4 separate regions of the Homo sapiens genome follow, and all the other regions are linked to region 2. Evidence: promoter capture Hi-C in 16 types of primary human blood cells and fetal thymus (Javierre and others, 2016). All regions are on one chromosome and are shown on one strand. Each heading gives the region's core, a stretch centred on a gene start or on the middle of the fragment in contact. The rest is flanking DNA. Distances are from core to core; before and after follow the strand shown.

The links. The method cuts DNA at HindIII sites, captures the fragments that hold promoters and counts their contacts. A CHiCAGO score of 5 or more calls a contact.
Region 1: a fragment that was not itself captured here is called in contact with the fragment with the promoter of BIN2 in region 2 in 1 of 17 cell types (neutrophils); the score reaches 6.1 in neutrophils.
Region 3: a contact is called between the fragment with the promoter of ATF1 here and the fragment with the promoter of BIN2 in region 2, in 2 of 17 cell types (fetal thymus and neutrophils). The highest score is 7.7, in fetal thymus.
Region 4: the fragment with the promoter of DIP2B here is called in contact with the fragment with the promoter of BIN2 in region 2 in 1 of 17 cell types (fetal thymus); the score reaches 5.9 in fetal thymus.

The regions. Positions count from the first base shown.
Region 1 is chr12:50,522,385-50,525,975 of GRCh38, reverse strand. All of the region lies in intron 1 of DIP2B (disco interacting protein 2 homolog B), which reads right to left. Among named protein-coding and RNA genes, the nearest start is that of DIP2B, 19 kb to the right of the region's middle. The HindIII fragment of the contact is 8,359 bases long and covers 1-3,591 here.
Region 2 is chr12:51,322,344-51,326,169 of GRCh38, reverse strand. BIN2 (bridging integrator 2) reads left to right here and starts at 1,996. Exons shown (of 13, transcript NM_016293.4): 1 at 1,996-2,148. The coding sequence starts at 2,068. LOC105369767 (a long non-coding RNA gene) reads left to right here and starts at 2,162. Exons shown (of 2, transcript XR_944957.3): 1 at 2,162-2,442; 2 at 2,967-3,802. RefSeq lists a silencer at 1,761-2,250 and an enhancer at 2,281-2,470. The HindIII fragment of the contact is 11,893 bases long and covers 1-3,826 here.
Region 3 is chr12:50,761,782-50,765,914 of GRCh38, reverse strand. It overlaps ATF1 (activating transcription factor 1), which reads right to left and starts at 1,814. Exons shown (of 7, transcript NM_005171.5): 1 at 1,608-1,814. RefSeq lists enhancers at 951-1,050, 3,351-4,133 and silencers at 1,471-1,560, 1,781-1,860. The HindIII fragment of the contact is 10,692 bases long and covers 1-4,133 here.
Region 4 is chr12:50,503,142-50,506,992 of GRCh38, reverse strand. It overlaps DIP2B (disco interacting protein 2 homolog B), which reads right to left and starts at 2,008. Exons shown (of 38, transcript NM_173602.3): 1 at 1,753-2,008. The coding sequence starts at 1,852. RefSeq lists a silencer at 1,596-1,705. The HindIII fragment of the contact is 3,121 bases long and covers 776-3,851 here.

The DNA of each region.
Region 1 (3,591 bases), core at 163-2,662, 800 kb after region 2:
AACAGGAAAAAAAGAAAGTAAAAGAGAGTGGTGAGATGAAGAATGATGGGAGGGGTTGCTAATTTAACCTTGGAGGTTCTCTAAGGAGGTTAACTTTGAACTGAGACTAAGTTGGAGCAGAACATTCTAGGAAGAAGAAAAGCAAGGAACAAGACATAGAGGTGGCCAGGCATGGTGGTTCACACCTGCAACCCCGGCACTTTGGGAGGCCAAGGTGGGAGGATGGCTTGAGCCCAGGAGTTCAAGACAAGTCTGGGCAACAGAGTGAGATCCTGTAGCTACAAAATATAAAAAAATTAGCAAGGTGTGATAGTGCAAACCTATAGTCTCAGCTACTAGGGAGGCTGAGGTGGGAGGATCTCTTGAGCCTGGGAGGTCAAGGCTGCAGTGAGCTCCATGTACACCACTGCACTCCAGCCTGGATGAGAGAGTGAGACTCTGTCTCAAAAAAAAAAAAAAAAAGGGGACCTAGAGGCAGCAACATGCATCACGGTTGAGTTCAAGGAAGAAAAGAAATGCCTATTTTGTTCAAAGTATCATCTCATGATGACCACCCTCTTTTAAATTGTGCCCAATAACCCTCTACCGGTATTCTCTGTATTTTTTTTTTTTTTTTTTGAGATGGAGTCTCGCTCTGTCGCCCAGGCTGGAGTGCAGTGGCCCGCTTTCGGCTCACTGCAAGCTCCGCCTCCCGGGTTCACGCCATTCTCCTGCCTCAGCCTTCCAAGTAGCTGGGACTACAGGCGCCCAACACCACACCCAGCTAATTTTTTTGTATTTTTAGTAGAGATGGGGTTTCACCATGTTAGCCAGGATGGTCTCAATCTCCTGACCTCGTGATCTGCCCGCCTCGGCCTCCCAAAGTGCTGGGATTACAGGTGTGAGCCACCGTGCCCAGCCTTCTCTGTCCCTCTTGATGCTTTTTCTCCATTGAAATTTTTACCAAATGGCCAGGCACAGAGGCTCACACCTGTAATCCCAACACTCTGCAGGGCACCAAGGCAAGAGGATTGCTCGAGCCCAAGAATTTGAGACTAGCCTGGGAAACATGGCAAGACCCTGTATCTACAAAAAATAAAAATTAGGCGGGCATGGTGGCACAGGCCTGGAGTCCTAGCTACTCAGCAGGCTGAGGGGGAGGATCTCTTGAGCCCAGGAAGAGGAAGCTGCAGTTGAGCCATGATCACACCACTACACTCCAACCTGTCTCAAAAAAAATAACAATAAATTTTTACCATCTAACAAGCAATACATATTACTTGTTATTCTCTGTCTACAGCTACAGATGTAAGCCCCCTAAGGGGAGGGGTGTTTGTCATGTTAATCACTGCTGTATCACCTGCACCTATGTGGCACATAGTAGGCACTCAATAAACACCAGATAAATTAAAAAAAGGAAGAGGGAAGCGGGAGGATGGAGGGAGGCAGGGAGACAGGTGGAGAGGAGAGGGAAGAATAGGGAAGGAGAGAAGGGAGGAAGGAAAAGAGAAAGAAGAGTCAGCCAATGTGGCTGAAGCACAATGGGTGAGGGGAAAAGATGAGGGGTCAGGGCGGTGTAGGTCTTGCAGGCCATGGAAACGTATCTGAATTATATTTTAAAGACAAACTGAATTCATGGAAGAGCTATAAAGCGGGGAAGTAATATGACCTAATTTGCAGTTTAAAAAGCTCTCTACCTGCTATGTGGAAAATGGGTTAGAGAGAAGAAAGCTGGGACACCACCAGGTAAGGAGCTAAAGAAGCAAGAGATGTGATGACATGGGCATGATTAACAGTGACTCGGCATGGAAAGAAGTAGATTTAGAATATATTCTCAAGGTAGTACCAAAAAGGCTCACTGATGGACTTGATACAGAGAGGTGGCCTGAAGGAGAGGAATCAAGGATGTGTTATCAATTTATGGCCTTTCAGCTCCAAATATACCCTCGCTGCTCTGTGAAAACTGAGATGGGCCCTTTAAATATTTTTCCTTTGACAGCTGCCATGATGTTAAACTTTGCCTGTCCATAGAGGGCACTGGAAAGACATTGCAGGAAGAGGCTTTTCTTTCTAGCTCCAGTGTACTCCTCCTGACAGGATAAACAGAATATCAACAAGTTCTCTATTCTGATGTCCTATGGAGTCCTAGTAAATTTATTTTAAAATATTTTATAATTTGAGGAAATTGGGAAGACAACTGAACTAAGCTAATACAACTTGTATGTTTTCACACGTAATTGTTTTCCTATATATATAAGAATTTGGGCATAGTATTCTGTCCATTCATCCTGTTTTAAAGCTAATACCATACTGCTTTGAATACAGTAACTTTAGAATCTGTTTTAATATGTGGTAAGGCCAAGTATCACCTCACTATTCCGTTTCTAAATTTTCTTGGCTATTCTATTTATTCTTCCATGTGAACACTAAGATCATTTTATCTAATTCTCCATTCCCTAAAGAATCTTCCATTGGAGTTCTAATTGGACTCCCATTAAATTTATATATATCAGTCTTCTCATTCAGGAACACAGTACAGTTGGCCCGTCCATATCTTTGGGTTCCACATCCATGGATTAAACAAACCTCTAAGTGAAAATAGGTGGAGGAAAAAAAGCCATCTGTACTGAACATGTACAGATTTTTTTTTTCCTGTCATCACTCTCTGAATTATAAAGAATAACAACTATTGACATAGTATTTTCACTGTATTAGGTACTATACAAGTATATAAGTAATCTAGAGTTGATTTAAACAAGAGGATGTGCTTACGTTACATGCAAATACCATGCCATTTTTTAGCAGACTTGAGCACCCTTGGATTTTGGTAACTGAGGGGAGTCCCGGAACCAATCCCCTACGAAGAAAGGAACAACTGTATATATTTCCATTTTTTCAGATTCTGCTTTTATATCTTTAAAGTTTTACAATTTTCTTCATACAGATCTTATGTCTTTCTTACAATATTTAAGTATTGTATAATTTTTCTCTTTTTCCCAAATATATTCCAGGAAATATTTTATAATTTTTAACACTTTTATAAATAAAATATTTTTCTCCTCACCAATGCAGTTAATTCCCATTCTTCCCCTGCCAATATCCCAGTGACATCAAATAATGCTTTTACTTACCACCTATCCACCACATTACCCTGTCCAACATCTGAGTTCTGCTGAAATCACTGGGAATGTTTCTTTCAGACGACTAGGTTTTCTCTTGCAATATGTTTCTTCTGGATTCTTACTTAGCATTTATATCACACATTCCTTGTCATTCTCAATATATACTATGTATATACAAGCAGGACCTGAAGTAACCTTATTTTACTCAATGTTATGTTATAAAGAGGCTGAAAAGAAAAACAAAAAAATCAATTCCCAGCCAGGGCCACTATCTGTGTGGCGTTTGCACGTTCTCCCCATGTCTGTGTAGGTTTTCTCCAGGTACTCTAGTTTCCCCCATACCCCAAAGATGCATCCATTAGGTGAACTGGCACATTTAATTGTCCCAGTCTAAGTGAGTGTGTGTATGTATGTGTGCGCCCTGCAATGGAAAGTCCTTTCCAGGGCTGGTTCCCGTCTTGTACCCTGAGCTGCTGGGATAGGTTCCTGC
Region 2 (3,826 bases), core at 747-3,246:
CTGGGTAGCCAGGAGTGGTGGCATGCACGCACCTTAGTCCCAGCTACTCAGGAGGCTGAGGTGAGACCATCACTTGGGCCTGGGAGGTAGAGGCTGCAGTGAGCCCTGATGGCACTGCTGCACTCCAGCCTGGCAACAAAGCAAGACCCTGTCTCCAAACAAACAAACAAACAAACAAACCCTAATCACCTATTCCCAGAAAATTTTGTATCCATCTCTACAAATAAATTAAGCACATTACATTAGAATCACCTGATTACCCACCTATCTCCACTTCCAGACTTTAAGCATCTTTATTTATGTACTTATTTATTAATACTTATTCTTTATTGGTTGAGAAAGGGCCTCACGCTTTGCCCAGGCTGGAATGCAGTGGCACCATCAGGGCTCACTGCAGCCTCCACCTCCCTTGGCTCGGGTGATCCTCCCACCTCAGCCTCCCTGATAGCTGGGACTACAGGTGTGTGCCACCACGCCCAATTAATTTTTGTATTTTTAGCAGAGAGAAGGTCTTGCTATGTTGCGCAGGCTAGTCTCAAACTCCTGGGCTCAAGCAATCTGCCTGCCTCAGCCTCCTAAAGTGTTGGGATTACAGGTGTGAGCCGTGGTGCCCGGCCAGACTTCATTAAGCATCTTAAGGTCAGGGACTGCATTTTATTCATCCTTGTTTCAGAACACCCAGCAATGCCTGGTACACAGTTGACCTTGAGTGCAGTAATGATTGTTTTGGAGAAAGAAGAGGAACACAGTAGCATACAAGGGCCTCTAATTTTGTGTCAGGCCCTATCTTCCCCCTCCACTCCTTAGGAAGTGTTATTTTGACCTTCTTCCCTGCCTTGAGGAAATTTTAACCTGCACTGTAAAATCTGAGTACGTGGTTCCTCCACACCTAGTGTCCTAATCTCAAGCTATCCCCTCAAACAGGTCAGGGAGGAATTTTTTGGAGAACTTCTCCCTAAAGAAACAATAGTTGTCATCTCAACAGCCGCACCCCAATTTGCACAATCTGTGTCTGTGTTCACATTCTGCCTCCATCCAGTACACTGTACTCCAACTAGAAAAACTTGCTCCTCATGCTCAGCACGGGCGTCCATACTATCCTCCTCAGCCTTTTTTCAATGTGATCATTCTCTTGCCTAAGAACCAGCCCCCTACCCTGTTTCTATCTCCAGCTTAGTTGTTCCTCATTTATTTATTTATTTATTTATTTATTTATTTATTTATTTGAGACGAACTGTCGCTCTGTCGCCCAGGCTGGAATGCAGTGGCGCGATTTCGGCTCACTGCAACCTCTGCCTCCCGGGTTCAAACAATTCTCCTGCGTCATCCTCTCGAGTAGCTGGGACTGCAGGCGTGCGCCACCACACCCAGCTAATTTTTGTATTTTTAGTAGCGACGCGGTTTCACCGTATTGGTCAGGCTGATCTCCTAACCTCAGGCGATCCACCCGCCTCGGCCTCCCAAAGTGCTAGGATTACAGGCGTGAGCCACCGCGCCCGGCCTGTTTCTCTCTTTCAAGCCCGGCTCGGGTGTCCTGCCTGCTTTCTGCACTCTATCCCTACCAGTTCCAGGCTTAGAGCCTACCTGGAGCAAGAAACGCAGTGTACATGGCGGCTTCGCATGCATACTCAGAGAACCTAAACGTGTTTTCGATATGGTAGGTCCTCTCGCTGAGTGGAACCCACATCATTTTCTACCCTGCGGTGGCAGTTGCTTTGCAGTGCTCAGCGTGATGGGAACTGGCTTTCCGGAGCGAGTGAGTGTGGGCCCACCACTGAGGACCTGGTTCAGTGAGGCCGAGGTTTCGGGCAGGGGTTGGAGCTCGGAAGCTGGCCTCGAGCGAGCGCTGCCTGAGGGTAGGCCCCGGGCCCGCCCCTCCGAGCCGGCCTGCTCCAGCTGACAGTGGTGGGCTGAGGGGCGGGCCTCAGGGCTGGCCAGGGGCGGCCTGAGGTGGCTCAGGGCTGGGGCCGGATGCGAGGCATGCCGGGAGCCCGCACTTCCTCCTCGGGGGCCTCAGAAAACCACAGGGCGCGGGGCCAGGGCGGCGGCCCCCAGGGAGTTGGCAGGATGGCAGAGGGCAAGGCAGGCGGCGCGGCCGGCCTCTTCGCCAAGCAGGTGCAGAAGAAGTTTAGCAGGGCCCAGGAGAAGGTAGGTGGCCGGGCCTCGCTGTCTGTCTGGCCCACAGGGAGCCGAGGCCGAGGCCGAGCCCGGCCGGGCAGGAGGGGCGGGCAGGGTGCTCAGGGGCCCCGAAGGGTCTGGGCTGACGAGAAGGGTCTCCCGCTCTCCCAGGGAAACGGGAGCGAGGAGTGGGCTTCCATGAAAACTGGCAGATTGGAGAGAGGTCGGAGACCGCCACCCGATCTTGGGCAAGGATAAGGGAAGCTGGGGAGACAACAGTCTCTGGGCAGAACCTTCGACAACCCTCAGGCTGACCCAGAAAAGGTGAAAGAAAGGAAGTGATGGTGGTGGCCACCTTTGTATCAAATTTTGTGCTAGCAATCCAAAATTGGTATTTTACAGATGATGAAATTGGAGGGTAATTTTCCATAGAGGGCAATTTCCCCAAAAACAGCGATGCAGCGGATGCCAGCAGGCACCCCCCACCAAAGGCTTAGAATAATCCTGCATAGTTCTCCCCCTACCTGACCCTGCCTGGCCTCTGGGTGGTGTTTCAGCTGACGTAAGCAGGAGCCCAAATCTGCTTCTTCTACCCTCCCTTTGGCGTTGGGGAGTACACCTCCCAGGGTGATGAACCACATCTGTGTTCAGAGTGTGTCCTTGGTTAGTGTCAGGTAGCCCTGCTCCAGCACTGGCACTTAGGTGGGCTGCCCATCTATTACTTGCTTGGCAATCTAAATTGTGGGGACATTCTCTACACATTTTGATGGCATTTTTGTTTCTACCTGTACAGAATATTTTCTTTGCTTCTAACCTGAGCCTCTGCTCTCCACCTACCAACCCTCTAGTAGACAAGGCGGTTTGGGAAGACATGTCAGCCAGAAGAAAGAGCGAGGGAAGAAAGACAAGAAGGACCTGAGATAGAGTTTCGGTTTTCCTTTTTTTCTCTCTCTCTTTATTAAGCCCAACCTGCCTTCTACAACGGAGAAGTTTTGGTTTTCTAAGAGCTGATGGACTTAGAAGCATTTGGATGAACAGCTCTGCTTACCAACTGAAATATCCCTATTATCTTCTAAAAGTGGAGCACTGCTTTGAGCCCTGGGAAGGCTTAAAGGCAACCAGCTCTCCCGAGTTGATTTATCAGCAGAAAACTGATGGAATGTAGATGTAGCTCCTGACTTTAAGAGACCACAATGGAAGGGAGGTTATTTTCTATCATTTGAGGTCATGTGAAAGAGAGGAGGAAAAGGGAAAGAGTTCGTGTAGCCAGACTTCGTTACTTCACTTACCCTAACTTCACCTTGATCCTAGTTTCAGCCTCTCTGAAGACTTACAAATCTGGTAGACCCGAGAGCAGGGCCTATGGGAAGGTCTAGCTCGAAACAGTGTGGGCGAGCAGGAGGTACTGGAGAGAAGGCCACACTGTGGTTGAAAAAAAAAAAAACCCTAAAAGACAAAACACTCATGAATGATAGTAATTTTAAAAAGACATACCAGCCAGGCACAGTGGCTCACTCCTGTAATCCCAGCACTTTGGGAGGCCAAGGTGGGAGGACTGCTTGAGCCCAGGAGATCAAGACTGCAGTGAGCAGTGATCACACCACACCACACTCAAGCAGAGGGAGACTCTGTCTCAAAAAATAAAAATAAATACATAAAAATAAAAGACATACAATTGATTGTATTTCACTCTTGCATCTTCTGTCTT
Region 3 (4,133 bases), core at 565-3,064, 560 kb after region 2:
ACCCCTTTTTACTGTTATTTCTCAATGATAGGCTAAACAAGGGGTGGATTAATCACGCCTCCCCTTTTTAGACCATATAGGGTAACTTCCTGACATTGCCATGGGATTTGTAAATGGCGCTGATGGGAGTGTAGCAGTGAGGATGACCAGGGGTCACTCTTGTGGCCATTTCAGTTTTGGCCGGCTTCTTTACTGCAACCTGTTTTATCAGCAAGGTCTTCATGACCTGTATTTTGTGCTGACTTGTCTCATCCTGTGACTTAGAATGCCTTAACTGTCTGGGAATGCAGCCCAGTAGGTTTCAGCCTCATTTTACCCAGCTCCTGTTTAAGATGGAGTTGTTCTAGTTCACACGCCTCTGACACCATCTCTATTTAAAAACAAACAAACAAACAAACAAAACAAAACAAAAACTGGCAAAGATAGCACACCCTATATTTAAAGTCAGAAGGGACTGCCACCTGCTGGTGATCGGGTAGGAATGGACAGATAGCTCACAGACCAAACCTAACCCTAAAAGATAACGGCAAGTATTAAAGAGCTAATACATTCGACTTTAGGGCAACAGTATTGATTCTAATTAAGACACGGAGATAACTGCATATGATAAACTCCAAGAAAAAAGAGCATTTTAGAAGAACGCATTTCTGTTAACAAAAACCTCAGGTTAAAATGCATTCTGAGACATAAATGCCTACGAACTCATCACAGGTGAGGCCAGTTTGACAAAGATGCCTGCCAGATCCACGCCGAGCTTCTGAACCCTAAAGGTTCTCAAAGACTACCAGTTGCCCAATCTCTTCAAAACACTAGCGCCACAACCAGACATTATTTCACATTGCAATCATTTCAAAGCGATTCAGCCGCCAGCTGCACGGCGTCGATCAAAGTGAGAAATGCCAGGCTTCGTTTTTTGACATACAAGATCAAAGAGAAAGTCACCCTCGGCTGGGTCGCCCATCCCAAAGGGTACAGACGCCCTTGTGTCATTCCTAGCCAGGGGTAAAGCCGCCTACTGTCCCCACTCTGTCTCCGCTGCCAGGCGCATCTCTCCAGGACTGTCTGGGGCGTGCGCAATGCCCGTGCGTCGGTTGCCCGCTAGACTGCAAGCTCCAGGAGGGTAAGGGGCGCGCCTCTTCCCTCAGGGTCGCCAGCGCCGACGCGCTTCGAGGACCCTGTCGCGGGGTTAACCAGACCCGGGCTCCGCTCGGCGGACACCGCGCCGAGGCCATATCCGCGCCGCCCTCCGCCCGGCTCCGGGCCCAACCTCGAGACCTCCCACGGAGAGCTAGCGCCTGCGACTGCAAAGGGCGGCTTCTGAGGCGAAAGCCACCCCGCGGCGGGCGGTTTCGGGCTTTACTTTTATTTGGGGGCGAGGGAAAGGAGGAGACGCACGACTGGAAGGGCGCAGCGCAGCTCTGCACCGAGGCGCGGAGGCCGGAAGCGCGGGCGGCCCCTCCCCCTGCCGCTGCGCCCCTCCCCCACCGCCACCACCGCGCGCGACCCCCACCAGGCGCGCGACCCGCGCTGCGTCCCCGCCGGCGCCACGTTCCCGCGTCCTTCCCCGCCCGGGCCACGGGGCACGTCCCTCCCCGCCCCCCACTTACCTGTGGCTGCCGCCTCGCCGCTCTCCGGGGCGGGAACTTCCACTCCCCCCTCCCAGGTAGATCCGAATTCACTACCCACTTCCCCACCCCCTCACGCAGCGGGGGACAAGCCTCCTTCTCGGGGGTCAGGCGGGGCGGGGAGAATCAGTGTCACTTAACAGCCAACTGTCCTAAGCTACCGTTTCCTCGGCAGTCAGGGCCGCTACTGGCGGCATGATCTACACAAGCCTGGGGGCGGGGGCGGGGGCGGGGGAGGGGAGGGGGGCAAAACTGAGCACTAGTGTGCGTTTGGGGTAGGCTATGGCGCTGCCTCCGCGCGGGCCGCCGTCCTGCGTCACCGCGCTGCCCACGTGACGCGCCGCCATCTTGTACGCGGTCCTGACTTGTGGCTAGGGGTTCCTCGGAACGCGTTCCTCAGGCTGCAGCGGGAGAGGGACGGTGCCTGCGGTTCCGTTTCTCCTTAGGAGCTGTACCCCACCCGCCCTACGTCCGCTTCCGGAGGCCATGAGCAGCTGGGTGCTCGCGGGGGGCGTTTTCATCGATTAGTGGCGGCGCTGTCAACTCACCTGCCAATTGACCTTGACCGACGCCGGCCCTGTCCTCTTGGAAGGAGAAATGAAGAGTGAAGGCTTTGACTTCCTCAGCTTTTTTTTTTTTTTTTTTTTTTTAGATGGAGTCTCTTTTTTTTTTCCGAGATTGAGACGGGGGTCTGTGGCCCAGGCTGTAGTGCAGTGGTTCGATCTCGACTCACTGCAGCCTCCAACCCCGGGATTCAAGCGATTCTCCAACCTCAGCCTATGGGGCAGCTGGGACCACAGGCGCGCGCTACCACGCTCGGCTTGAAGAGATGAGGACTCTATGTTGCTCAGGCTGGTCTTGAACTCCTGGGCTCAAGTGATCCTCCGCCTCGGCCTCTCAAAGTTCTGGGATTACAGGCGTGAGCCACCGTGCCCGGCCTTACTCAGATTTTTCTTAATCCCATAAAGTAACAATGAGTTGTGTCCTTTAACCCATGTGGAAGGATTTTCTACAGAAACGGATTTACAATGAGACATAACGATGTGGCCGGGCGCGGTGGCTCATGCCTGTAATCCCAGCACTTTGGGAGGCCCAGGAGGGCGGATCACCTGAGATCGGGAGTTCGAAACCAGCCTGACCAACATGGAGAAACCCCGTCTCTACTAAAAAATACAAAAGTAGCCGGGTGTGGTGGCGAATGCCTGTAATCCAAGCTACTTGGGAGGCTGAGGCAGGAGAATCGCTTGAACCCGGGAGGCGGAGGTTGCGGTGAGCCGAGATCGCACCGTTGCACTCCAGCCTGGGCAACAAGAGCAAAACTGTCTCAAAAAAAAAGAAAAAAGAAACGTAACAGAGTGTTAATAAAATGTTATGCCGTCATTTTAATGCATTACAAAAACTTCAGAATATTTTTGGGTCTACCTCTCTGGAAGGGAGTTATGCCTTATTCTTAATTTTTAAAATTTCCTTGTAAAATGCTGTTTTATGGCTTTAATGATAGTAAACGACAAAAGATAAACTTTTTTAGTATGCTCTTGACAAAAGTTCCGAAAGTTTTCTGAAATTTTACTAGTTTGAGATCCCCAATTTAGGAAACCGATTTAGTGGAGAGAGCTTTGCCTATTTTTGGCCCTTTGGGTCGGAGAATGTGATATAAAGCCGAAGATTTACTCTGCCAGACAGTCTTAAGAGGTCACTAACGTTTAGCTATTGACATTCAGCAAAAATTGTGGATTACCTATTAAATGCTAGACCAGGGGACAACTGTTATTAAGTCAGTGTTTCAGCATTACTGAAAGAAAAGTGGCCTATAAAGGTAAGGGAGAGGAAGAGTTTCTCAGATACCAGCCTTCGATGATTAACAAAGTCCAGCCTCAATCATTCTGGAATCCAGAATATTGATGGCTGGAAGGCTGGTTGTACAAGTTTATTGTTCTTTGGTGTTTGGTTTTTTCTTCCGTGGACCACAGAATGCTTAACAAAAGTTGATCAGTAAAAAGCGGGGGAGGGGCTAGGCGTCGTGGTTCATGACTGTAATTCCAGCACTTTGGGAGGTGGGGGAGGGCAGATCACCTGAGGTCAGGAGTTCGAGACCAGCCTGGCCAACATGGTGAAACCCCGTCTCTACTAAAAATACAAAAATTAGCCAGGTGTGGTGGCACACACCTGTAATCCCAGCCTCTCAGGAGGCTGAAGCATGAGAATCGCTTGAACCTGGGAGGCAGATGTTGCAGTGAGCCAAGATCACGCCACTGCACTCCAGCCTGAGCCACAGAGGGAGACTGTCTCCAAAGAAAAAAAATAAAAACCTGGAAATTTTATTGAAAAATGAAACCTTCAAAATGTGCCTTGACTACTTCTTTAGCTCCTCTTCCTTAGTGCCTTAGGTCTAAATCAAATGTTACGCTCGACCAGTCCTGGTGGCATGCGCCTGTAATCCCATCTACTGGGGAGGCTGAGGCAGGAGGATCATTTGAGCTCGGGAGTTTGAGGATACAGTGAGCTGTG
Region 4 (3,851 bases), core at 759-3,258, 820 kb after region 2:
TCAGCTGGAAGCAGATATACCCAGAATAAGGAGCTTCCAGGATTTCCCTCTCCGTGTGAAAGCAATCAACTCCTATTTTTAATCTCCCTCTGACGCAAGCATCCAGGCAAACCTCTCTCTAATCAAAGCTAGATGATTTGTTACTTTCAAATAGCAGTTTTAAAAGTCAGATTTTAATGCAAGTCAACACAGATTTAATGTCAATGCTTTAGTCTAGGAGAAGAATGAGTTATCTTGAGAGACAGAATTGATGGTAATGCAAAAAGCTCCTCGATTTTCGAAGCGGGGGGAACTTAAGGTATAACTGGGCAGACAAACCCAGAGGATTCCTATCTTCTTAAACACTTCACAGAAACAAACTAATCTAATACCAGTGATTCCCGGGACTGGCCGAAGAATAACTTGAAAATTGGATTAATTGAAAAATAACATGTTGATAGTTAAGTACAGGTAAAAACAGCACTTTCCTACACATTGGGTTATTAAAAGGGTTATTAAAAATAATTATTTCCTTCAGTGCCCAACAGGATTTATAACATTCAACTCTATTTTTGGTTTTTCATTGTAAAGGATTCTCAGAGGGGAGGGAACCATAATGCCTTAATAAGTAAACAATAAGTAATGTTTAATAAGCTCCTGGGAGTTGGTCACATTCTTCTTTTCCAATCAAGAGTTTTTGATCCACTTGAAAAATGCTAGTGAAGAGGGCCTTCCACAAGGAACTCAGTAAGAATATGCAACTCTGGAGACACAATCAAAGTACTGGTATCAAGCTTGGAGAAAATGCTGCTTTTGTCTCAGGGGCAGCCAGTGATAAAAACAGGAACTTTACACAGAACTGATCACAACTGCCCCAGAAGCCTGATCACATGCCCACAACGGAGCACTGTGTTTCTCTCATTGTTGTACAAGGAGTTCTCTAATAACAGTGGCTTGATTTATCCCATTTTTTTTTTTTAATTCTGAAAATAAATCGAACCCTCCCTGTCCCAATCCATTGTCAAAAGAAAGAATGCCAGCCAGGATTTGCAAGTAAACGGTAGCCTCCTCTCCTTCCTTCATCAAAGACTCCAAAAGGTGACCAGATGCGGAAAATTCGGCCCGAATAACAGGCACCAGGAAAAAAAAAAACTTCTTATGACAAAGGTGGTCTAAAAGCAGCACCGTGTGTCTCTCTGGGTTAATGCCATTGCTTCTTATCTTCCTAGGACCCTAAATGGCTCACCCGCTTGTGTCTCACTCCTGTCACTGGGGAGGCATCGCGCATTGTTAAAGGAAAGAGAAGAAATGATGCTGCGGATTTCCCATGTGTCTCTTTTTGAAAGGGGGAAGGGGGGGCTGGAACAAGGCGTGGAGCCCTCCACGAAAAGGGGAGAGGAAAGGAGAAAGCTGTCAGCCACCCTCCTCGCAGCCCTACCCCTCACCCCACCTGGGCCAGACGCCTGGGCAGAAGCGGGAGGGCGCAGCTTTGTCTCGGGTTTTGGGGGGCAGGAAGCGCAGAAGCAGTGTGGGCCCGGGAGGACCTTTCCACAAGCCCTTACTTAGTCCCCTCCATGGGAAAACAATGAAAGCCACAGGAAACCACTTAATGGGGTGGGAGAGGAGGGAAAACGGTCGTGGAGCGCCAGGCCAGGTTCTCTACACCCTCGTCCCCCTCGCCGCACGGCCGCCAGAGCGCGCGGCGGGGACCTGTCTCCCAAGTCGCCGCGATCCGCAGGGCCCCGGGCGCCCTCTCCCCGGCCCGGCTCCTACCCTCCGAGAGCTCCAGCTCCAGCTCCGCCAGCTGCGCCCGCACTTCAGGCGGCAGCGCCGCCACCGCGGCCGGCGACGGCTCCAGGCCTCGTTCCGCCATCCCAGCTCCGCCAGCCACACTCCGGAAGACAAGAGAGGGGGCCGAAGGAGGGACGGACAGACACGGGCCCACACCCGGCTACAGGATCCGGCTCCGGCCGCCGAGCACCACCAGCACCGCCGCCGCCGCCGCCGCCGCCATGAGCAAAGGTCACGTGAGCGCGACGGCCCCCGCCCCCCGGCCAGGAGGACGCACCGCCTCTCCAGCCCAGTCAGGCTGAAGACGCATATGCTTACGGCGCCCTCTACTGGGAAGCTACCAGAACGACGGGCCCAAGCCCACCACTCGAATTTCCCTGCGCGAAATGGGCTCATGGTATGGACTGTCGGCTTTACCACAGTAGTGTGGACACATAGCATTTACCTTTCACTCTCGAGCAAGTTTTTAGGGGTCCCAGGCCTTACTTTTTCCAATACTAGACTTAGCAATGTATGTCTATCGTGTCCTTTACTCCATTTTCCCTGATTAATACCTGCCCATTTATAAAAACCTAATCACAGGCCACCTCCTTCGCTGTGGCTCCTGGTCCTATCTGCCAGGAGCTCTGTTTCCGTTTCAGTTTTAGCTTTTAAAAAGACAGGCGCGGTGGCTCTCGCCTGTAATCCTAGCACTTTGGGAGGCTGAGGCTGGTGGATCACCTGAGGTTAAGAGTACCAGGCTAGCCGACCGGGCGCGGTGGCTCACGCCTGTAATCCCAGCACTTTGGGAGGCCGAGACGGGTGGATCACGAAGTCAGGAGATCGAGACCATCCTGGCTGACACGGTGAAACCCCGTCTCTACTAAAAGTACAAAAAATTAGCCGGGCGTGGTGGCGGGCGCCTGTAGTCCCAGCTACTCGGGAGGCTGAGGCAGGAGAATGGCGTGAACCCGGGAGGCGGAGCTTGCAGTGAGCCAAGATCACGCCACTGCACTCCAGCCTGAGCGTGAGCGCGAGACTCCGACTCAAAAAAAAAAAAAAAAGAGTACTAGGCCAGCCTGGCCAACATGGTGAAACCCCGTCTCCAATAAAAATACAAAAATTAGCCGGGCGTGGTGGCGGATGCCTGTACTCCTAGCTACTCAAGAGGCTGAGGCAGGAGAATCACTTGAACCCAGGAGGCAGAGGTTACAGTAAGCTGAGATCGCGTCATTGCACTCCAGCCCGGGCAAGAGAGCAAACACTCCGTCTAAAGAAAAGAAAAAGACAATAGAGAGCAGGTCCACTTCTTTCTTTCTATACTTCTAACTACTTACAAGGAGGGAACTTACTTTAACTCATCCTCCTCACTCTGTGGCCTAATAGGTGTTCCAAAAACATTAATTTTAATTTAATATGAAGAGGGTCCAAGGCTAGGTGCAGTGGCTCACACCTATGATCCCAGCACTTTGGGAGGCCAAGGTGGGCGGATCACCTGAGGTCAAGAGTTCGAGACCAGCCTGGCCAACATGGCGAAACCCCGTCTCTACTAAAAACACAAAAATTAGCCGGGAGTAGTGGCACATGCCTGTAATCCCAGCTACCTGGGGGAGCTGAGGTAGGAACGTCGCTTGAACCCGGGAGGCCAAGGTTACAGTGAGCTGAGAACATGGCGGCTGCGCTCCAGCCTGGGCAACGCAGTGAAACTGTTTCAAAAAAAAAAAAAAAAGTCAAGGCCGGGCGTGGTCGCTCACATCTGTAATCCCAGCACTTTGGGAGGCCGAGGCAGGCAGATCACCTGAGGTCAGGAGTTGGAGATCAGCCTGACCAGTATGGTGAAACCCCGCGTCTACTAAAAATACAAAAATTAGCTGGGCATGGTGGCATGTGCCTGTAATCCCAGCTACTCGGGAGGCTGAGACAGGAGAATCGCTTGAACCCGGGAAGTGGAGGTTGCGGTAAGCCCAGATTGCACCACTGCATTCCAGCCTGGGCAACAAGAGCGAAACTCCGTCTCAAAAAAAAAAAAAAAAAAAAAGGAAAAACTGGATGAAGCATACACAGGAATTATCTGTACTATCTTTGCAACTTTTCAGTAAATT